2 separate regions of the Homo sapiens genome follow, and region 2 is linked to region 1. The links are contacts of gene promoters, found by promoter capture Hi-C in blood cells and fetal thymus (Javierre and others, 2016). All regions are on one chromosome and are shown on one strand. The core of a region is centred on a gene start or on the middle of the fragment in contact, and the rest is flanking DNA. Distances in the headings are between cores, read along the strand shown.

What was found. Contacts are between HindIII fragments. The CHiCAGO score rates a contact against its expected background, and 5 or more counts as called.
Region 2: a fragment that was not itself captured here is called in contact with the fragment with the promoter of FAM53B in region 1 in 2 of 17 cell types (non-activated CD4 T cells and activated CD4 T cells); the score reaches 7.6 in non-activated CD4 T cells.

Annotation. Positions count from the first base shown.
Region 1 is chr10:124,742,387-124,748,112 of GRCh38, reverse strand. It overlaps FAM53B (family with sequence similarity 53 member B), which reads left to right and starts at 3,735. Exons shown (of 5, transcript NM_014661.4): 1 at 3,735-4,100. RefSeq lists silencers at 3,497-3,636, 3,767-3,816, 3,837-3,946, 3,997-4,156, 4,477-4,686 and 1 more. The HindIII fragment of the contact is 7,750 bases long and covers 1-5,726 here.
Region 2 is chr10:122,375,371-122,380,473 of GRCh38, reverse strand. All of the region lies in intron 1 of PLEKHA1 (pleckstrin homology domain containing A1), which reads right to left. Among named protein-coding and RNA genes, the nearest start is that of PLEKHA1, 3.2 kb to the right of the region's middle. The HindIII fragment of the contact is 407 bases long and covers 2,187-2,593 here.

The sequences.
Region 1 (5,726 bases), core at 2,486-4,985:
ATACCTCTTTAAAAAGGTGTGTGTGTATATATATGTATCATTCATGTATGTATGTATGTATGTATATACACACATGCATGATTCCAGCCAGAGCTATAATTCATTTCTTATTTTCATCAGTGGATAAAAAGAACAGACAGGAAAGAACAGAGGGATTAATGTGTCATGTGATCCCTACATGCTAATGTAGGTAGGGTTACTAGTTGTAGCTGGACAAAGATGTGGGAAAATTTACAGAACTTTTTTTTCTGAGTAAGACGTGAAAATTGCCCCCATGATAGGTTCAGATTTTTTATTTCCATCTGTAACCAGAAACTTCTTATATTTTCCAAAGAAGTATATTTTGCTAACATATTTCCAGTCACCTATCTTTTTGAAAATACTTAAGGTGGACTTGGTGATGTCTGTCTTCTCATAATTTATTATAAGCAATTTTAAAAAGGTTCTGCTTTTAAAAAGATCTTTTCAAATGTAGAAAGAACAGTGTGAAATGTGAATGACTGGCTTTTAATACAAGGGTTGTGACAAAGAGGCAGTGGCTTTTGGAAGCCAAATAAAGGGGTGAATACACGTGCATCTGCATACTGCTGTTGGATCCAGTGTATAACGTTTGGCGTTTGTTTAGTTCACTTGTTAGTCTAAAAAGGATAGTATGTTATTCTCTCAAACCAGTTTATAATTTTTTAGTGGTAAGCTCTTTTTACAACCATACCTACAGATAGATTTGATGGGAAAAACTGAACATTTGCTGGTACTTGTTCAAGCCTCAAAGCTCAGCTCTTTGTTTGAACGTCACATTTATCTGGTTCTAAAGGCATAAAAATAAAACACCCACTAACTACCTAAGACACTCCTTAGTGCATATCAAAACCCAACCTTTACCCTCGTCTGCACAAATGTGCTTAGGTGAATACTTTTATTAGCTTGTTGATACAAGTTATAGTAGGTTACACCCTTAATAAAACACACCCTTATTGTCATCCTGTTGCTTAAGAGCTTTAAACTTGTAATAGGGGAGCTCTCTAATATAGAATGATACTCAATTTCTATCTCCCAGGCAGTTTTGAGTGGAAATGTGTTGCACACCTTACACACAAGTGTGCCTCTATTTGGTAGTCCTCCTTTGGGAGAACTAGGATTGCTGTGTTTTATCCCTGGCTTTCATATATTTTTTGTTTGTTTGTTTGTTTGTTTTTTGAGATGGAGTCTTTTTCTGTCACCCAGGCTGGAGTGCAGTGGTGCGATCTTGGCTCACTGCAACCTCTGCCTCTCAGGTTCAAGCGATTCTCCTGCCTCATACTCCTGAGTAGCTGGGATTACAGGTGTCTGCCACCATGCCTGGCTAATTTTTGTATTTTTAATAGAGATGAGGTTTCACCATGTTGGCCAGGCTAGTCTCAAACTCCTGACCTCAAGTGATCCGCCCGCCTTGACCTCCTAAAGTGCTGGGATTACAGGCGTGAGCCACTGTGCCGGGCCGTCATATATTGGTCTTGATGTAAAAGACTGCAAGTAATCCCTGCATTTTATATTTCCCAGGGTGTTCTCCGGCTTAATCAGGTTAGCGTTGGTTGGTGATAATGGAAAAGTTACAAGTAATAGTTTTTAGATTATTTATGGATTTATTCCTAAATTGGCCTATGAATTTGCATTTAGGTGTCTGGTTGTGTGCAAAATCTGGTTTTGACCATTTTGGATTGAACAAAGATAGACAGTTTAGCTCCATGTCCCCACCCCATTGCAGCTTTTACATAGCTTTAAATCTAGAGTTCTACATTTTTAGCTACTCTTCTGAATTGAGCAGAACTCTAATATAACAACAACCTTTTGGGTAGAATTTTTTCTTAGTAAAGAACTATGGAGCTGAGCACTAAGAAGTGAGGATGTTTTATAATATAGCTGTAGGATTATTATATCATGTGGGAAGAACCTATAGTATGGAAGGTTAAGTGTGACACAGGTCTTAATGTATGCATATCTTTTTAGCCTTTGGAGATACAAATCTAGAAAATGAGAAGTAACTATTTATTGGTTAATAGCATAACTTCTTAAGCAAGTATATTCTAGACAGCCTCAAGAAAGCCTCAGAACCAGAAAAACAGGCTGCTTTAGGTTGGAAAGGAGGTGTTACAGCAGAGGAACTGGCCATGACCACCATCCTTGGAATGTGAAACGCAAATCATCCTGAAAGCAACAAGAATAATGGTTGTAATAATTGTTTCCAGGCCTGGGACCCTGCATCTTGTTTTTTAAGTTGACCTGATGAACTAGTAATTGTAGGAATAAACTGAATGTTTGCCAGCAGGAGTCACTCTAGGCTTCCTAATAAAACGTTAGTAAATTAAACTCTGTCCTTAAAGCTCTGAAAGGCTGAGGTGATTGTGTGATATCAGATGGCTTTAGGGAAACACTGACTCTTTTCGTTAAGCATAGCAGCATTCTTAGATTATTCCTTGGGCCTTCTTTTGTTCACCATCGGTTCTTGGATCTTGTTCCTTTCAAGATTGGTCCTTAATGCATTTTTAAAAAGCAACGTATATGGGTAAGGATATCAATATCTTAGTATGCTGTATTCTGTATGTTAGCTCATTTTGGCTTTCTAGGATGAACTGACTCTATCCCACATCATGTAACTTGAAATGAATAGACTCATATCCTTTCCACTGATTGCTGTCCATTCTAATCATGCAGCAGAACTCAGTGGAGCGAGCTGTAGTGTGAAAGGAGATGTCAGTTCATGCTTTTCTGAAAAGAATGGGTCCGGTGTGATGATATTCTGAAATATTTCAGCAATAGCCATGAAATATAATAGTTTCCCAAGCACACAAAGCTCAAGAAGTTAATTGTTCATTTATGTTTGATACTGGGATTGAAACATTGGATTAAAACCAATTAAATGTTCCTAGAAGCAACAGAAAAAGTTTCCTTATTTATGAATAGAACCATTCAAATGGCGCAGACACAATCCATGTAAAGTAATGAGGTGTTTTGTTTTTTTGGCAAAGGAGAACACAAAACAGGCATAGGGAGTTTTAAAAAAACTTCTCTTTAAAAATCGCTTTTTGGATACAAGGTCAATAAAATAACATACACCAGTAGGAAGGAGTAATGGGAAATCTAGGGCTTCACAAGGAAAACAATCCCCCTCCCCCAGGTGAGCAGCACAATGAAAATACTCTGCTTATTCTATCAGGGTTACATTCCTGAACTTAAGTCAACATCCTAAGTTACAGAACTAAACATGCTCTGCCTCTGCTTAGCAACCACAAATCCTTCCTTCGCCAGTTGCATGTATTTTGGATGTGGCTTCTGAAGTACACAGTCACAGCGCCCCGAGTTAGGAAATTTGCGCTTTATTTTCCCAAAGTGTGACAACACTTTAAGGTCCCCCCTCCCCGACCCCACCCGCCCGCTGTCCTGCACGCCACTGAAGTGATCGTTTCTTTTGAACCTCGGCATCTAACAACCCGGAAGCTGGACGCCTGAAGCCTATGCGGCCCAGCGTTTTCATCCCGGCTCGTGCTGGGGGCGGGGAGAGAAGCCCGTAGGGCCTCTGGCGCGGGGCCCGGGCAGCCGCGGTGGCGCGGCCCAGGCCCGGGGCCACTTCCCGCGTCCCGGGGCCTCGCAGGCGCGAGCGCGGCGAGCGGCGCGCGGCTGAGCCCGCAGGACGCCCTCTAGCCCCGCCGGCGGCGCGCCGCGAGTCCCTCACTCCCCGCCCATCGGCGGCTGCGCGCACTGCACACTCGCCTGCCGCCGCCGCCGCACGCCGCCTGCCTCCTGCACGCCGCCGCCGCGCCTAGCGCCCGGGCCCGCGACACCGCCCGCTAAGCGCCGGGCCGAGTTCACGCAGCCGCGGTCTGGCGGCTCCGCGGCGGCGGCGGGTGCGGGCGGCCTGGCCGGTGCCGGTTAAAGGGACGAGTTGCAAACACTTCAGGAAGTGACAAGTCGATTTCCTCCTCCCCGGGAGTCGCTCGTACAAAGCGCTCGGCGCCGGCAGGCGAGCGTGCGCGCGGCGGACGCGCGGCGGGCACCCCGGACGACTTGGCGAGCGCTGGCGGTGACGGCGCGGGGTCCGCGCCCGGAGCGCCCCGCCGCGCACAGTAAGCGACCCGGGGCCGGGCGGCGGCGGCGGTGGCCGGGGGGCTGGCCCCGAGCGAGGTCCGGGCCGTGTGCGTCCCGGCCGCTGGCTGGAGGGAGCCCGGCTCGCGTGCGCAATGGGCTTGCCTTTTTTTTTTCTTTTTTCCTAATGTTGCTGGTTTCCTTTTTTTCTGCCTTGTTTCGCCTTTGGGTTGGGTCGGGCGGTTTCTCCGGGCGCTCGGTCTCGCCCCTGATGCAGGCGTGAGACTTGTCAGAGCACAGGCATGGGGAAGAACAAGCCTGGCTGCGGCGGAAAAGTCTGCGCTCCCCAGGCCAGGGCGGGCGGGCGCGGGGACTGCTGCGCCCGGGGGTGTCCTCTCCGCGTCTCAACTTGAGCCCTGACTAGCCGCTGCGGAGGAGGCGCGGAGTCTCGGGAGCCGGGCGGCCCCATTCGCCCCGAAGTTCCCGCATCGTTTGCAGACAACTCTTTTGTTCGCGGAAGTTTGCACCCGCCACCCCCGGGGTGCGGGAGCGAGGCGGCGGGCTCCGCTGCTGCTGGACTGTCCGGGGCGGTCAGGATGGGGGTGAGGGGGCATTCTGTCCCGGGCGGGGGAAGCCCGCGGGGAGGCCACCGCTGGGGCTTGCGGAGTGGGGGCGTCCGCGCCGGCGTGGCTTTTGCACATGGCGAGAAGGGCCGTCCGGCACAGGCACACTGGTCGAGTCACATTTTTGCTAGTCTTGGATTTTGCAAGCCCGTGGGAGTCAGGTTCCCCGCTCAGGGTTTCTCTTGGGGCAGAGACGAAAGAAACGAGGACACCCAGAATCCGGGGAGGGTTTGCGGTTTGTGTTGTCCCAAGTGTGTTCTCGCTCCCCCCGCCCCCCCACCTTGTCCCCCAGCCCCCAGCTCTCCACCCCCATTTTCGGACTTGGGGAACAATGCTTGTAGTACGGGCCGGGGCGCCGCAGCAGCGACGAACCGCGCGGACAGGTTTGCCCGGGTCCCTCGCGTTCGGACGCCCCCTGAAGCCGAGCTCCTTCCATCTGACCGCCCGGGCTCATTAACACGTACTGTACTTAGGACGATGGTGAACAAAGAAAAGCTCTTTGCAGCGTTTGATGAATGGGATTCTGCCTCCTATAGGCCACACTCCGAGTCTTCCATACGGTACAATCTCCGGACTCGGTGGTGTTAGGAAAGTGGCCCCCGGAATGGCTTGCATTCCGGGTCTGGGATCCTGGGGTGGGCATTTGTGCCGTCGCCTTCGCCGCCGCGCTCGCCTTGCAGGAGCGGGTGCAGATGGAGCCAGGCTGACGGTTGTTCAACAGGAACAAATGTTTGTTCAATTGTTGGATGGTGGAGAAAAGGGACTGTTTCCTATTGACTGCTGCAGGAGTTGGAATGGCATTGTTTATTGGCCTGGGAAGCCAGGCAAGCGTCTTGTGCTGCTTACAACATATTAGCAGACTTCCAAATGACATGCTAGCATATGTGTTCCCAGCAGTCCCCACCGGCTGGCAGGGAGATTCCTCCTTGCTCCAGATCCTGGACTCGTTTAAAAGATGCCACCTGGTTTGAGGACTTGGGAAGGAATGGAGTCAGCCGACCAGGTGAAACTCACTGTTCCTTATTAGGCCAGGTTTTTGTTTCA
Region 2 (5,103 bases), core at 1,141-3,640, 2.4 Mb after region 1:
CTAAAATTGCAAATCCTCCAAACCGTTTTGCTACTTCCACCTTGGTTCCCCATGTTATTCTTCTCCTTAGCATTTATTGATTATCTAATGAATGATACAGTTTACTTATTTACCTGATTCTTGTCTGTTTCCCCACACTGTAATGTAGGCTCCATGACAGCAGGGATTTGTTATTTACTGTTGTTTCTCCAATGCCTAACACAGTGGCTGTCACATGCAAGACCCTCAGTAACTATTTGTTGAACGACGGATGAAGTAACCCATAATTACTGCATCAAAGATTAACGTTAAGTTTCCAGATAGAAAGTTGTTTCTTCCTCATCAGACAAGAATCATTTACCAGATTTAACTGATTTATTTAAATAATGGAAGGAAAAAGTTTCAAATACTGTATTTCCACTTAAATTTATATTTTTAGTGAAACTTACATGAGGCAAAACCAGACACAATTATATTATTAACATGCCTCCCAACCCAAATTTCTCCTTCAGCTTTACTCATACTCTAAGGTATAGTTAGATCTTACAAATCAGTCATAAATTAACATAATTACAGTTAACACCTCATCAGTCAGGAACCAGGAAGCCAAAAAATAAGGCAAAACACAGAAACAGCCTGAGTGATATAAGAAAAAGCAAAGAAAAATTAAATTCTGTACAGTGAGACCTCAACAGGCCCACAAGACTTCACTATTATTTGTTAAAACATGTCGAGTGGGACTAGTCCTGTTGCCCCACAATCACTGACAAACACAAAGCTGAGGATATATAGACATAGAGGATCAAATATCTGTAGAGTCAGGCATGGCTCTGGCACCCTAATCAGCACCATCCTTCCACTCTGCAAGAGCAGTTGACAGAAGAGAGGGAAAGAACTGTAAGTCTTCAGGGAGAACGCAGGGAAAAGAAGGAGGTCTTCACCAAAACAGTGGCAGGGGCCTCTAACAGAAATCACTCATGAAGATCAGAGGAGCCTAGAACAGACTTGCATCCCATTCTCCAGTTCCACATCTGCTTATGCAGCAGACTGAGTGACTGACCCCATGTGTCTACTTGAAAAGGGGGACAAAGAGAATTGATGAGAAATGGCAGGGCACAGAAAGAAGGCAGACTTAAGTAGTCTGTATGCCACTATTCGACATCACAAGGAAGTGAGTTTCCAGTGGGTTGAATAGAAACCACAGCGTACCTGGATTGAAGTTGTTTTGCCATTATCAAAATATCTCGCTGCAGAGAGAAAAGATCTCCACCCCGACTCACACACATTCACGTAACCAGTGGGTAAACTGACAGGATGGGAGCAAGCAGATGGGTGTGTAGGTTGGAAAAGGTTTAGCTACAGAAAATTTCATACCCAGAAACTGTGCAGCAGGAGTCTCCCTGCAAGATCTCACCAAAAATGCCAGTTTGGTTGCCTATTAGTAGACTGCAATGGCCTGCCACTGTTAATCAAGAGAGGACTCTAATAGCACCAGATAACAAACACTTGTCTTTTTCTACTTCTCTTCTTGACACATTTGTATCCAAATAGATCCCTTAAGAGGGAAAGGAAAGAAGTATCCCAGGAGCTTACCACAAGCCGTCCATACCCCAAGTGCTTCAGTAAGTAAGTGGCCTGACCACAGGGTAAGGAAGGGAAAAAAAACCTTTAAATTGAATATATATGAGATTGAATGTTCAAACTGGAATAGACTGCAATTTTTTGTTTTTGTTTTTCTGTTTTTTTTTTTTTTTTGGAGACAGGGTCTCACTCTCCTGTCACCCAGGCTGGAGTGCCACAGCACAGTCTCTGTTCACTGGAACCTCTGCCTCCCAGGCTCAAGGGATCCTCCTACAACAGCCTCCCAACTAGCTGGGACTACAGGCACATGCCACCACGCCCGGCTGATTTTTCTATTTTCTGTAGAGACAAGGTTTCGTCATGTTGCCCAGGCTGGTCTCAAACTCCTGGGCTCAAGCTATCCTCCCACCTCGGCTTTCTGAAGTGCTGGGATTACAGGCATGAGCCACTGAGCCCAGCCTAGAGCTTTTTGATAACTGTAAATGACAGAAAAGCTATCATTTACCCATGATGTTATGGGGGGTGGGGGACAGGGGGGTGGGAAAGAGCCTACAAAATACAGTTAAAGGCAGTGAATAGTGAAAATTAAAACTCATTAAAACTCTTGTGTTTGTTCTCAGTAAGCTTGGACTGCTGAATAACCTGATGACATATGCAATAGCATTCTCATCCTTAATAATGGGAGGGAACACCTGACATGGAAATTCTCAGGAGGGATTTACTGTACCGGGTAAGATGCTACATTAGAAGCCCTCTGACATCACTTCCAATTCTAGTGCCTGTGATCGTCTTTTCCTTCAAGAGGTTAAATTCAATCCAGAATCTAGAGTTCAATGGTTAAACCATAAAAGGCTAGGCTGCCTAAAGGGCTAAAAACCACAACTTTCTGGAGAATAAAGCTATCAGACTGACAAGCCTGGTAAGAGTTCCATGTAGGAAACAATATTTTGCTCTAAAACTTATTTAACTTAAAAAAATCTTAAATGACTAATTTTCTTTTATATCCAACAGAAATTCCAGTTCAAAGAAAGCTTATAAAATCCCAAAAACCCTATCTTCCTGAATATTATCAATTCAACTAATTAAAAGGCTTACTAAAATAAATAGCAAACATATGTTTGCTTAAGCATCTTCTAGGAATCACAAACTCACATATCCCTTATTAGACAGTACCCACAAGAAAAAAAGTTACTTAGGGTCAAATGGTTTAATATTGCTCAGTAAGTGTAAGAGAGTTCTAGTGCTATAACAAATAACAGGATGCTTTATGTTTACATAAAAACATCCCATATTTTTATGTTTCTAAAAATAATTAAGCATTATAAACAATCATCTAAAGCTACCAAGTTTTCTGCCCTTTCTGAAAGCATTCCTTTCAGACACCATGTCAATAAATTCTTAAATGCTGGATGTGTACTCACAAATGGTCAAAAAACCTAAAACCAAATCTTAATATTTAACTCCTATTGAAGTCATTTTATTGTATCATTGCAGATCTAAAACAAGATTTTTTAATCTTGAAATTTAAATTTTAATATTAACAAAAGTAAACTGCTCCAGCATGAGAAAAGTAATTATTTGCATATTACCTCAGCTCACAGTTGGAATCAAATAGGAAATACTTTAAGGCAGTTAGTTATATCAACCCAAAATTTTCTAATAAAAGCAATGTTACTATTGTCACAAATAATTACTACACTATATTCAGAAAACTATCTTCCCCATTCTCAAATAAGTTATTTAAACAATAATGACTTGACATCAAGCAATATGTCAATGTCAAAGTATGACTTAAATTATATTAATAAACTATTTATTAGATTTCATTCTGGGTTACAAATTATCACACAATTAAAATAACTTCGGGATTTGCAGCATGACTAATAATAATAAAGAACTTCCAGGCTTAAGTCAAAAAGCCACTTTGTTTAAATCTCCATTAAATGTTTTTTGTGGGGGGAAGTCCCCATAAAAATGTAAAATGTTTCCACCTTTCCCAAGTATCTTCCTAGGAGTGGTCAATATTGTCATATCCTATATGTTAGCAAACGATACTTGAATGACTTTTAAAGAAAAGAATCCAATGCTATTCTTAACATCCTTAAACACTTCTAAAAAGGTCCTTCCGGCTTATGAACTCATGGCAGTTTCCTCACAATTGTATACTTATCCTGTTTCACTGTCTCTCCTAGTCTATGACAAACTCAATTTTACACACCATCTTTCCTATTTTGTTACACTGCTAAAACTGGGGAGAAAAAAAGATACAAACCTGCTACTTTCCCCCCTCCCAAAGCGACAATGAAAATACTAATTAACAAGATAAAGATTGGAAGCTCTGCGCGCGCCCGCGCGGTGTGTATACACATATATTTATATTATATATATATATATATATATATATATATATATCTTCTTAATGTCACTAAATTCACAGCCATATATCTTGATACAGGTATACGCTACAAGAGAAAACTGTCAGTAGATACAGTGTAAGGTTTACGGCAGTATAAAATAAATTAACTACTTTATTAATTCAAATTCTGTCAAACTTAAATACTCTTTTTTAAATGTATCAGTACTCTAAAATGCAATTTTCCTTGGGAAAATTGGCCAAGATAAAAAATACTTTAACTCCACTAGGGGAAATATTTCTTTTGCCACAAGTGTGTCAACAGGAAAAATTAAGAGCATGAAAAGTAAACAGGTATTTTGATCAGAATAAATCTTATTATTTTAATATAACGGGTCTTCAAGTTCTTCAGATTGTGAAGAAAAACACAGTTTCACAAAACAATCACATAACTCTTACCCAAACTTTGCTGTAAATGGTTTCAGTGGCATCAAATTAACATAGAAAGTATGCAAGCTGAGTACTTGGGAAAATAAAGCAGATTGATCAGGAGTTCTAAGATGAAAGACAATGGTGTAAACCTCATAGTGCACTATTTGTTCCAGTCATTAAACACACAGGAAATAAGATTTTCTATTTAGAAAACTAACTCACAAGGGGCAATGACTTCATTAAAACAAAGAAAATCTTATTAAAACAACGATCAATTGTAAAATAAGAAAACCAGTACTGCAGAATTGGAAGGTGAAACAAACAGACGAGGAAAACGCAGAAACTGCCTGGATATTTATTTGTTCCTTGAACCTCTTCTTGTACTGCCCCCAGAGAGCAAAGGAGTTTCATTATTTATACGCCCAGACCACGGTAGATGCTCTGCGCGGGGGCACAGCCTCACCAGAATTCTACCAAAGGCGGTAAACACTATAAGCAACAGGACCGCTTTCATTATGACACACTTTCCCCTCTTTCCAGGAGGTCAATAGAAAGCATCTGAAACAAACCACAAACCACTCAAGACGGCCCCAAAGCTCTGCGGTTGGCAGCTGGCCTCGGCGTCGAAAGACCTGGGTCTGGTCGCCTCCCCGGTGCCACCTGCGTGACCTTGGGCAAGTCGCTTTCAACGCTGCCTCTGGCCACCTGCCCCGAAGGTGCGGAGGTAAATCGCGGACACCGCCCGACTTCAGGGCCCA